2 separate regions of the Homo sapiens genome follow, and region 1 is linked to region 2. The links are contacts of gene promoters, found by promoter capture Hi-C in human tissues and cell types (Jung and others, 2019). All regions are on one chromosome and are shown on one strand. Each heading gives the region's core, a stretch centred on a gene start or on the middle of the fragment in contact. The rest is flanking DNA. Distances are from core to core; before and after follow the strand shown.

The links. Contacts are between HindIII fragments. The study calls those that stand out against the background at their distance.
Region 1: a fragment that was not itself captured here is called in contact with the fragment with the promoter of FAM78B in region 2 in 1 of the 25 tissues and cell types used here (pancreas).

Annotation. Positions count from the first base shown.
Region 1 is chr1:165,643,284-165,648,456 of GRCh38, forward strand. The region is part of intron 1 of MGST3 (microsomal glutathione S-transferase 3); the gene reads left to right. Among named protein-coding and RNA genes, the nearest start is that of MGST3, 15 kb to the left of the region's middle. The HindIII fragment of the contact is 3,519 bases long and covers 1-3,422 here.
Region 2 is chr1:166,164,793-166,169,467 of GRCh38, forward strand. FAM78B (family with sequence similarity 78 member B) reads right to left here and starts at 2,209. Exons shown (of 2, transcript NM_001017961.5): 1 at 1,194-2,209. The coding sequence starts at 1,456. It overlaps LOC112268276 (a long non-coding RNA gene), which reads left to right and starts at 1,085. Exons shown (of 3, transcript XR_002958633.2): 1 at 1,085-1,262. RefSeq lists enhancers at 1,076-1,978, 1,150-1,319, 1,420-1,469 and silencers at 1,860-1,919, 1,960-2,449, 4,484-4,543. The HindIII fragment of the contact is 7,560 bases long and covers 1-4,675 here.

The sequences.
Region 1 (5,173 bases), core at 413-2,912, 520 kb before region 2:
GACATATGTAGTATTTCTGGTTTTGCCATCATAAATATTGCTGAAGTAAATATCTTTGAACCAAATTTGTTTGCATTTCTGATTGTTACCTCAGGATAGATTTCTAGTAGGATTAATGAGCCAAAGAATATTAATATTAAAAAGAATATTACTGGCCAGGTGCTGTGGCTCATGCTTGTATTCCCAGCATTTTGGGAGGCTGAGATGGGAGGATCACTAGAGCCCAGGAGTTCGAGACCAGCCTAAGAAACATAGGAAGATCCTATCTCTTAAAAAAAAAAAAAAGAAAAAATATACATAGGCTGGGCGTGATGGCTAACACCTGTAATCCCAGTACTTTGAGAGGCTGAGGCAGCCGTATCAGTTGAGGCCAGGAGTTTGAGACCAGCCTGGCCAACATGGCAAAACCCCCATCTCTACTAAAAAATAAAAAAATTAGCCGGGTGTTGTGGCGGGCGCCTGTGATCCCAGCTATTTGGGAGGATGAGGCATGAGAATTGATTGAATCTGGGAGGCAGAGGTTGCAGTTAGCTGAGATTGTGCCACTGCAGTCCAGCCTGGGCGACAGAGCGAGACTGTCTCAAAATAAATAAAATAAAATAAAAAAATTTTAAAAATACAGAAATTAGCTGGGCATGTCAATGTGTGCCTGCAGCCCCAGCTACTTGGGAGGCTGAGTTGGGAGGATCACCTGAGCCCAGAAGGTCAAGGCTGCAGTGAGCTGTGATAGCACCACCATACTCCAGCCTTGGCAACAGAGACCCTGTGTTAAAAAAAAAAAAAAAAAATTACCTATTGCCAGGCTGTCCTCTAGATGGTTCTATCTTATACTTCCCTCAACAGTGTAGAAGAGGGAAAACTAGGTACTTTTAACTACAGTTATGTGTTCACTCATGATGGAGATATGTTCTGAGAAATGTGTTAGGTGATTTTGTCATTGTGAGAATATCGTACAGTGTACTTACACAAACCTAGACAGTATAACCTACTACACACCCAGGCTATATAGTCTAGCCTATTGCTTCTAGGCTGCAAACATGTACAGCATGTTACTGTACTGAATACCATAGGCAATTGTAACATAGTGGTATGTATTTGTGTGTCTAAAGATATCTAAAAACTTAGAAAAGATCCAGTAACAATATGGTATAAAAGACAAAAAATGGTACACCTGTAGAAGGCACTTACCATGAATGGAGCCTGCAGGACTGGAAGTTGCTCTGGATGAGTCAGTGAGTGAGTGGTGAGTGTGAAGGCCTAGGGCATTTCTGTACACTGCTGCAGACCTTACGTACACTGTATACTTAGGCTACACTACATTCATTTTTTAATATTTTATCTTCAATAATAAGTTAAACTAGATTACTGAAGCTTTTTTACTATAATTTTTAAACTTTTGAATCTTTTGTGACAATACTTAGCTTAAAACACTAATACATTGTAACTGCATAAAAATTGTTTCTTTGTTTTTTGTTTTCTTTTGTTTTTTTCTTGAGACAGAGTCTTGCTGGGTCTCCCAGCCTGGAGTGCAGTGGTGCAATCTCGGCTCACTGCAACCTCCACCTCCCGGATTCAAGCAGTTCTCCTGCCTCAGCCTCCCGAGCAGCTGGGATTACAGGCACTCATCACCTCGCCCAGCTAATTTTTTTATATTTTTAGTAGAAACAGGGTTTCACCATGTTGGCCAGGCTGGTTTTGAACTCCTGACCTCAAGTGATCTGCTTGCCCTGGCGTCCCAAAGTGCTGGGATTACAGGTGTGAGCCACCATGCCCGGCCAAAAATTGTTTCTTCATATCCTTATTCTATAAGATTTTTTTTTCTATGTTTTAAATACTTTTTTTATTTTTAAAGAAGCAACACCATTCAGTTCAGAACACCCATACTGACTTTGAGCTGATGGCCTTTGTAGGTTTCTAACTGGAAGTGAAATTTTTTCTATTTTTAAAACTTTCTTTTTATTTCATAGTTACTTTTTAAGCTTTTTTTGTTAAAAATTAAGACACAAACACACACCTTATCCTAGGCCTATACAGGGTCAGGATCATCAGTATCCGTCTTCTGCCTCCACATCTTGCCCCAGTGGAAGGTCACATGGACACACCTGCCATGTGTGGAGCTGTCCTCTCCTATGGTAACAAGGCCTTCTGGAATACCTCAGGGAGGACCTGCTTGCACCTGTTTTACAGTTAACATTTTTTTTTAATAAGTAGAAGGAATACACTATAATGCTAAAAAGTATAGTATAGTAACTACATAAACCAGTAACTGTCACTTATGATCATTATCAAGTGTTATGTGCTGTACATAATTATACATGCTATACTTTTATATGACTGGCAGCGCAGTAGGTTTGTTTACACCAGCATCACCACAAACATGTGGATGATACAGTGTACTACGATGTTACAATGGCACAGTGGCTATGATGTCACTAAGCAATAGGAATGTTTCAGCTCCATTACAGTCTTATGGGGCCATTGTTAAATATGCAGTCCATCACTGAAACGCATGGCTGCATGTGGTAGAAGGTTTCAATTCATAAATATTAATTTATACTGCTGGTTTATGACTAACCCAGGAAACTGCATAATGATTAACAAATGCTACGATATAACCAAGTGAATTGCAAAGTCATCTACACCTGTATTAAAGTTCAGCTCAGAAAGGACTGTTTGGACTGTGTGTATCTAGCACTACGTAGAAGAGAAAGTCAAGGGCAAAGTTCCCACTCTCAAGAACTTTATCTTGTTGGGTTCATGAAAGGGTTTCTGGTGACACAGAGTAGGTATATAATCAGCAAAATGTGGTCTGCGGTTCAAATGAGTGCTCATGCCAGAGATTGGTTGGGTGCCAGCTATCAGTTCTTCCACCCTGTCCCTGGAAGCTATCTGCTACCTCTGGGGCTGGCACAACCCAGGGTGTGGCTGCGACTGCCTAGGGTGTGGCCACTGTGAACTGAGCTGCATCCCCTTCCTGGTGCACACCCGCACACACAAAAGTCACTCTCTAAGGAGTGGGAATATCTATCTCTTCGCCTTGGAATCTTCAGAAAATAATGATGTAGCAAATGATAGTTTTTTTGAATGTTGATTTAATTAAGCTGATTCTTTCTTTGAAAGAGAAGATTTAATGATTTTTCACTCCCTATTGCATTTATGTTTTCCACAACTACGACAAGAGTTTTCTCTGTGTTCTGAATTCTTCTTTCTTAAGATTTCTCTTTCTGGATTAGTCATAAACCAGTCTTTCTTAAATACATTCAGTTTCTTCCCTGGTTTCAATAGATATTGAGGGAAGAAACGGAAACCTGAATTGGTTAGATGCATACTTTATACCAGACACTGTGCCAGATGATAGAGATTATTTCAGGTGTGTATTCAGGGGACGGGGTGCGTGGTGGTGGTCATTCTGAAAGACACCTGCAGTTGCAGCTCAAATCATTTATTCCGTAAGTATCTATGAGCGTGCACACTGTGCTTGACATGGAAGATGCCAGACAAACGTGGTCCTGCTCTGTTTTAAGTGAAGGTTGTTATGGTGTATAAAGCAGGACACCTCACTTGGTAGGAGTGCAAGGAGGTATCAGGGAGGGCTGTTCTGCTGCCCTTCTCGCAGGCAGCTTTTCAGGCATTGCTCCTGCACCTATGCAGACGTGTCCATGGCTCGTGCGGGGGACCCTCAGGGAGAACAGTCACGCTGCTGCCCCAGGCACTTGCACTGTCCCTATGACTGAGTATGCATCCTCTGCAAACCACTGCTGTAGCATCAGACTCTGGGTACCCTTACTGTGAATTCACTGCCTTTCCAAGGTCCTAACTGTTGCTGGCTCTGCTTGTCATCATCCAGATTCATAACGCCATACATACCTTAACAAAGTGTGAGGAGAGTAACTTTCACTAGGGTGCAAATGCCCATCAAGTTTAACCTCACAGATTGCATTTATACTTTAAAAGAGGAGCTCAGTAGTAAATATTAATTTGTAATTATAGATTCTAACTGTGGATTGTAGAGCAGTTGCTTTGCTGTGACAGGCATCTATGCAAGAGGCACTTCTCTTATCTTGCCATCTACCTACCCTAGCCTCTTAAAATTAAGAAAAATAGAAGTCAGTGACTAAGCCACCAAATTTGAATGTGTTACCTGGGCTAGCTGGAGTGTTTTGGGGGAGAATTCTAAAACCTGCTCTGGTCTTAGCTCTGCCCTCATTTACTGAGCCTCTATTTCCTTTTCTATAAAGTGGAGCTAATAGGAGTTTTGTGAAGAGTAAAAGTGAGCTGAAAAGTGCTGGGCTGACACAAGGTAGCCCTGCACATAGCCAGGGAGCCCAGCATCCTGTCCAAAGATTAGAGTCTGAAAGCTCACTCTACTGATTTGCAAACTTTAACCTAAAGCAAATATGCTTAATTTTATTGTCCTTACATTTATTGCTTCTGAGAGACACCTTTTTTTTTTTTTAAGGCAAGGTCTTGCTCTGTTGCCCCATGCTGCAGTGAGGTGGTGCAATCATAGCTCACTACAGCCTCAGCCTCCTGGGCTCAGGTGATCCTCCCACTTCAGCCTCCTGAGTAGACATGAGAGTCTCCCTGTGTGGCCCAGGCTGCCTGGCCTCAAGTGTTCCTTCCACCTTGGCCTCCCAAATTGTTGGGACTGTAGGTGTGAGCCACCATGCTTAGGTGGCAGCTTTATTTTAAATGACCTGTTTGCCCCAGATGTGTTGAATTTAAGGATAGGCTGGAGGTTCAGTCATTTTTATTTATTTTCAAAGAGGTGTTCAGAATTCACACTCTGTTTTTCTTTTAATAACTACTGTGGCTTCCTCCTCATGCTGACTTTCTACACTTGGGAAGAGAATGTGGGCAAGGAAGCTTGGAGGGAAGCCAGAGACTCCTTGCTCTCTGCAGCTGCACAGACAGGCCAGGATCTGCTGACCTGTGGAACCAGCCCGCTGCAGTGTGTGCCCCCCAGCCCCCGGAGGGGCAGCGGGCATGCCTCAGAGAGCAGCTCAGAGTGAAGACGGTAGAAGGGGAAAACTGATGAGAATTATTGTGAATCATGGTGGGGAGGAGGGGTTTTAAGAAGTTAGGCCTGTTAGGCTGGGTGCGGTGGCTCACACCTGTAATCCCAGCACTTTGGGAGGCCGAGGTGGGTGGATCATCTGAGCTCAGGAGTTCA
Region 2 (4,675 bases), core at 959-3,458:
GGGAGCTCTAGAGTTTTAGATTAATAAGTGAAATGAGGTTGAATTTCCAGAAAAAGGGTTTCCCTGTAGGCTGCAGACTGGCTAATTAGGGTGTTCTAGACCTACATTGTAACAGCAGGTAGAAGGCAGGCCCTAAACCTTTTAGCTATTGTCGTTGCCACCTGCTCAGAGTCTAGTTCTGAAAGGAGGCGGGTGCGGAGTTATGAAAATTTGGTAAATATAAAAGTCCCGGACGCGACCGCCCGTAGCCTGCGGCCCCTGGCGGTTGAGGAGCCGCGGCGATCCTTGGTCTTCACCGCAGCAGCCAAGCCCGGCGCGCACCAACCGGCGCTGCTGAAAGTTGGAGAGCTCCCAGCTCGCCGATAGAATTCGGCGGTGGGCGCCAGGGGAATCCCTTCCAGTGCCGCAATTAGGAAAGTTTTAAAAAGTAAGGACCCTAGACAGACAAGAGATCCATCCTTTCCTTTAGCATAAGAAACACCCCGCGCCGCGCCAGCCGAACGCTGCTCGCACAAGGCTATCCGCCCTTCTTGGCCGGGACGCACTCGGTGCCTTCCAGCTCCCCACCAGAACTGGTCCAGGGGGCGCGGAAACAGAGAGGCAACTGTGTCCGGCTTGTGGTTCCAGACGGAAACGCCTCCGGGCTCCCTGGCCCGGGGGACAAGGGTTCGAAACTTCAACAGTCGCGAGGGCAAGGACAGAACTACCAACTCCCGCTCGGATGCCCGGGACCTGCTCTTCCAAGCCCGCTCCGGTTTCTCCAAAGGACGCGCGGCACAGCCCATGCGCCCCCGGCACTCCACTCCACTCCTCTATGGTTTCCCCCAAACTCTTCCCGGGGAGCCCCACAAAGCACAGACGGCGCCCTGAAACTCGCCAGGCACTCGCCAGCCATCCCCACCTCCGCCTCTCGAACCCTCCTTGTCGCGTTCTTCCCGCCCCGCACCTTTCTCCTCGCGTTTCTGGGAAGTCAGAAGCAAACCACGAGAAAATGCCTTCGCAAGGAGCCTCCCTACACCCGCCCTGTCACTGAAACAAAAGCGTAGGGAGGAGGGAGGTGGGAGAGGAGGCGGGAGGAAGGTTTAGAAAGACGATGGGGACAGCAGTAGGAAGGAGCTGGGGAGGGGGGTCAAGGTGGCAAGCAGAGCTGGGGGCCCAGAGTCCGCTCCCGTGCCGCGCGGCGAGTCGCTTACATGCCCAGGTCGCTGTAGGTGTTGAAGAACTCCATCTGATTGCACGCCTGAATCCAGCCCACCACCCAGGTCTCGTGGCGGGGGATGGGGGGCATGACCACGCGGGCGGAGGCTTTGAAGTAGGGGGTCTTGTAGCGCAGGACGATGGGCGAGGTCTCCTCGATGCGCGTGGGGCACTGGTCGATGGTGGCGCACACATCGTACACCACGATGTTCTCGCGCCGGATCCGCGCCTTGCAGGTGATGCTTTGGATACAGCCCATCCTGCAGCCCGGTGCCGGCACGGCGCGGCGTGGGGCAGCGCGGGGGCCCGCGCGGGCAGCCGGGGGCGCCCGTCACGCCGGCATGGCGACGCGCCGCTCGCTCCCGGTCAGACTCAGCTCGCACCTAGGAGCGGGGAGCCGCCGGGCATCCTTGGGGAAGCCCCCTCCTCTTGCAGCCGCGCGGGGTCCCCGCTGCCCCGACGTCCGCCCACGCCCGCCCCCTCGCTCCGGCAGGGCGCGCGGAGGGTGCACTCCTAGGAGGCGGCGGGTGCCCTCGCCGGCTCCAGCGCCCGGGCGGAGGGCAGGGAGGGGAGCGGCGCTGCGAGGAATGGTGCCCACCCCGGGCCGGAGCCCCCCGCCCCTCGCCGGAGAGGAGGAGGCGGCAGCGGCGGCGGCATGGAGCCGGGGGAGGGCGGCGGTGGCAGCGCCCGGTCTGTCTGCCTCCGCGGCGGCAGCAGCAGCAGCCGCCGCCGCCGCCGCCGCTGCATGAACCTCTGCACCACGGCTGCCCCCCGCGTGCAGCGCACCCAGCGGCGGGCGAGCGGGCGGCCCAAGAGGCAGGCGGAGGCAGCAGCGGCGGCGGCGGCGACCGGAGCTCCCGCCGGCCCCGCCCCGTAGCCGGACCACACCGACACTCCTCGGCCCGGCTGCCTCGGCCCGGGGGGCGCCAGGAGGCTGTGGCCCGGGGTGGAGAGCCCCAACGGCTGGAGCAGCACAGGACGTGCTCCGCGGAGGAAACTGGCTGTACGCCATGAGTTTTGTCCCTATTCGGCTGCCGTCCGGGTGGGGGGGGGGTAATGTGTAAGGGTGGGGGTGTTTAAAGGGCCGCTAGCGCCGGGGTGGGGCCCCGCACGTGGGGCTGAGGCGGGGCGGGGCCCTGGTAGGTGGTGCCCTGGGGTGGGGGTGGGGGACTAGGGCGGGCCCAAGCGCCACCGGGTGGGTGAGGCCGAGCAGGGCGCGGCGCTGTCCAGAGTCCAGTGGGGAACCCGGTAGCCCAGTAGGGGCTGTAGAGTGAGTGTTTCGGGCAGCAGAAGGGTTAGGGGAACAGCTTTATCAGAGATTGGTCGTTATTCAGAATATAGCTTGTTGGATTAGATTTAGGCTTGAGCCCTTTTAGTATCCTACCTTCAGAAAGGGTGAAGGGCGGGCTCCAGCAGCGTTACTAAATGCAGTGTATTTGCCTCTTTGCCTGACTGGGTTTGTTCTGGAAGCTCTTCTTTCCACCACTGTGTGTAGTGGGGATACCGGAAGAATCCCTCCGTACTCCAGCACTAAGTCTCTCATATGCCAGAGTTTTGGCAGACATTGGGCATTGTGTACAGTATGACCACGGTCATGTGTCTGATACTGCAGTCTAATGTGCCAAACAGGAAGAATATTTAGCAGATGCTTTTACTAGGCATCTTCTTACATTTTTATTTTCAAAGCCAATAGCTTCTAAGTATTTCTTCTGCGATCATTGAACATTTGCTGGATCTGCTGCCCAAGTGTGAAATACTGACTAACAGGCCGCAGGAGGTGCTAGAGTTAGTCTTTAGCTAGGACAGGTGTGACGAGTAATTTAAAAATTGATTGAGATCTAAAAGCACTCTTCATCCTTGTTTTAACTGTTCTGACACCTTGGTTCACTTTATAGTTAACAAAAAAGCAGTTTTTCCCTTTGATGACTCGTCTCTCTCATTTTACCGTGTAGCCACAGACCTCAATCACTGGTCCTTTCATTCAGCAAAGGCTGACTGCCTGCCTGGCAGGAGCCAAACATAGTGCTAGGTACTAGGGATTCAAAGTTGAAAAAGAGCACATGGATCACTGGAGAAAATAAACCTGTTAACAAGTTATTATAGTAAACTGTGACACCTGCTTTAGTGGGGTTGTGTATCCAGTGCCGTGGAAGGCCAGACATGTAAATCTCTGGCCACATGTAAATCCCTCAGTGGTCAGAGAGCCACTCAGTGGCTCTCTGGCCACTGAGAGATTTACGTGTGACTTTGCTCAAGTAGTGACATTTAAATTGAATACTGACAGACTGTAGAGTCTCACTGAAAAGAGAAAGGTGAATGAGTAGTACAGGACCAGCATTTGGCAAATGCAAAATGCATAGAGATATGAAAGAACTCATCCTGTACTGAGGGGGAGAAACAACTCACAGTCAAGGCATTTCTCAAGGTGTTATGTGTCGACCATGGGCATCAGAATCACTGTCCAAGAATCAATTGGTTGTTGATAGACCATATCTTTTTTCTTTTTAAAATTAAGACTACAGACTTTATTTTGATTTTACTAGTTTTTCCACTAATGTCTTTTTTTCTCTAGAATCTAATCCAAGATATGATGTTGCATTTAGTCATTACATCTCCTTATTCTTCTCAATCTGTGACAGCTTCTCAGTCTTTCTCTGTTTTTCATGACCTTGACATTTTTAAAGAGGACTGGTCAGATATTCTGTAGAATTGTTCCTCATTTGCATTTATCTGATGTTTCCTCATGATTAGACCAGGGTTTTGGATTTGGGGGATGAATACCATGAAGATGAAGTGCCTTCTCATTGCATTATGTCAGGGGTACATGATAGCAATATGACTTTTTACTGGTGTTATTAACCTTGATCACTGGGTTTGGTGAATAATTTTTTTAACTTTTAGGTTCAGAGGTACAGGTGCAGGTTTGTTATATAGGTAAATTGCATGTCATAGGGGTTTGTTGGACAGATTATTTTATCACCCTGGTAATGAGGATAGTACCCAATAGGTATTTTTTTTTTATCCTCTGCCTCCTCCTACCCTTCACCCTCTAGTAGGGCCCAGTGTCTTCTCTTGATAGGACCTTATCTTAAACTTCAGTGGAAGCCAATGAAGGCAAGCCATGCATTTTGAGAAAAATTACTCTGCATCCATATAGAGAATAGAGGAGGCAGCGTTTCAGAATATTGTGATGACAGATACTTTGACCCTCGGCTAGCTTGGGGCAGTGCTGTGGGGCTGGAGAGGCCTGGCTGCATTTGCATTTAAGAATCACTTAGGAGGTAAATGTATTTACTTGGTAACTGAACAAGGTGATAGAAGGGGAAGCAGCTTGGGACTGTGGGTGATGTCATGTTAAGTTCGAGGTTCTTGGAGGTATTTGGGGGGCAGGGTGGGGTCAGAGTTTGAGTTTCAGTGGTTATTAGGTTCCAGGCAATAGACCAAAAGGAAAGCATTTCATTGGGGAATGTAGTTATGT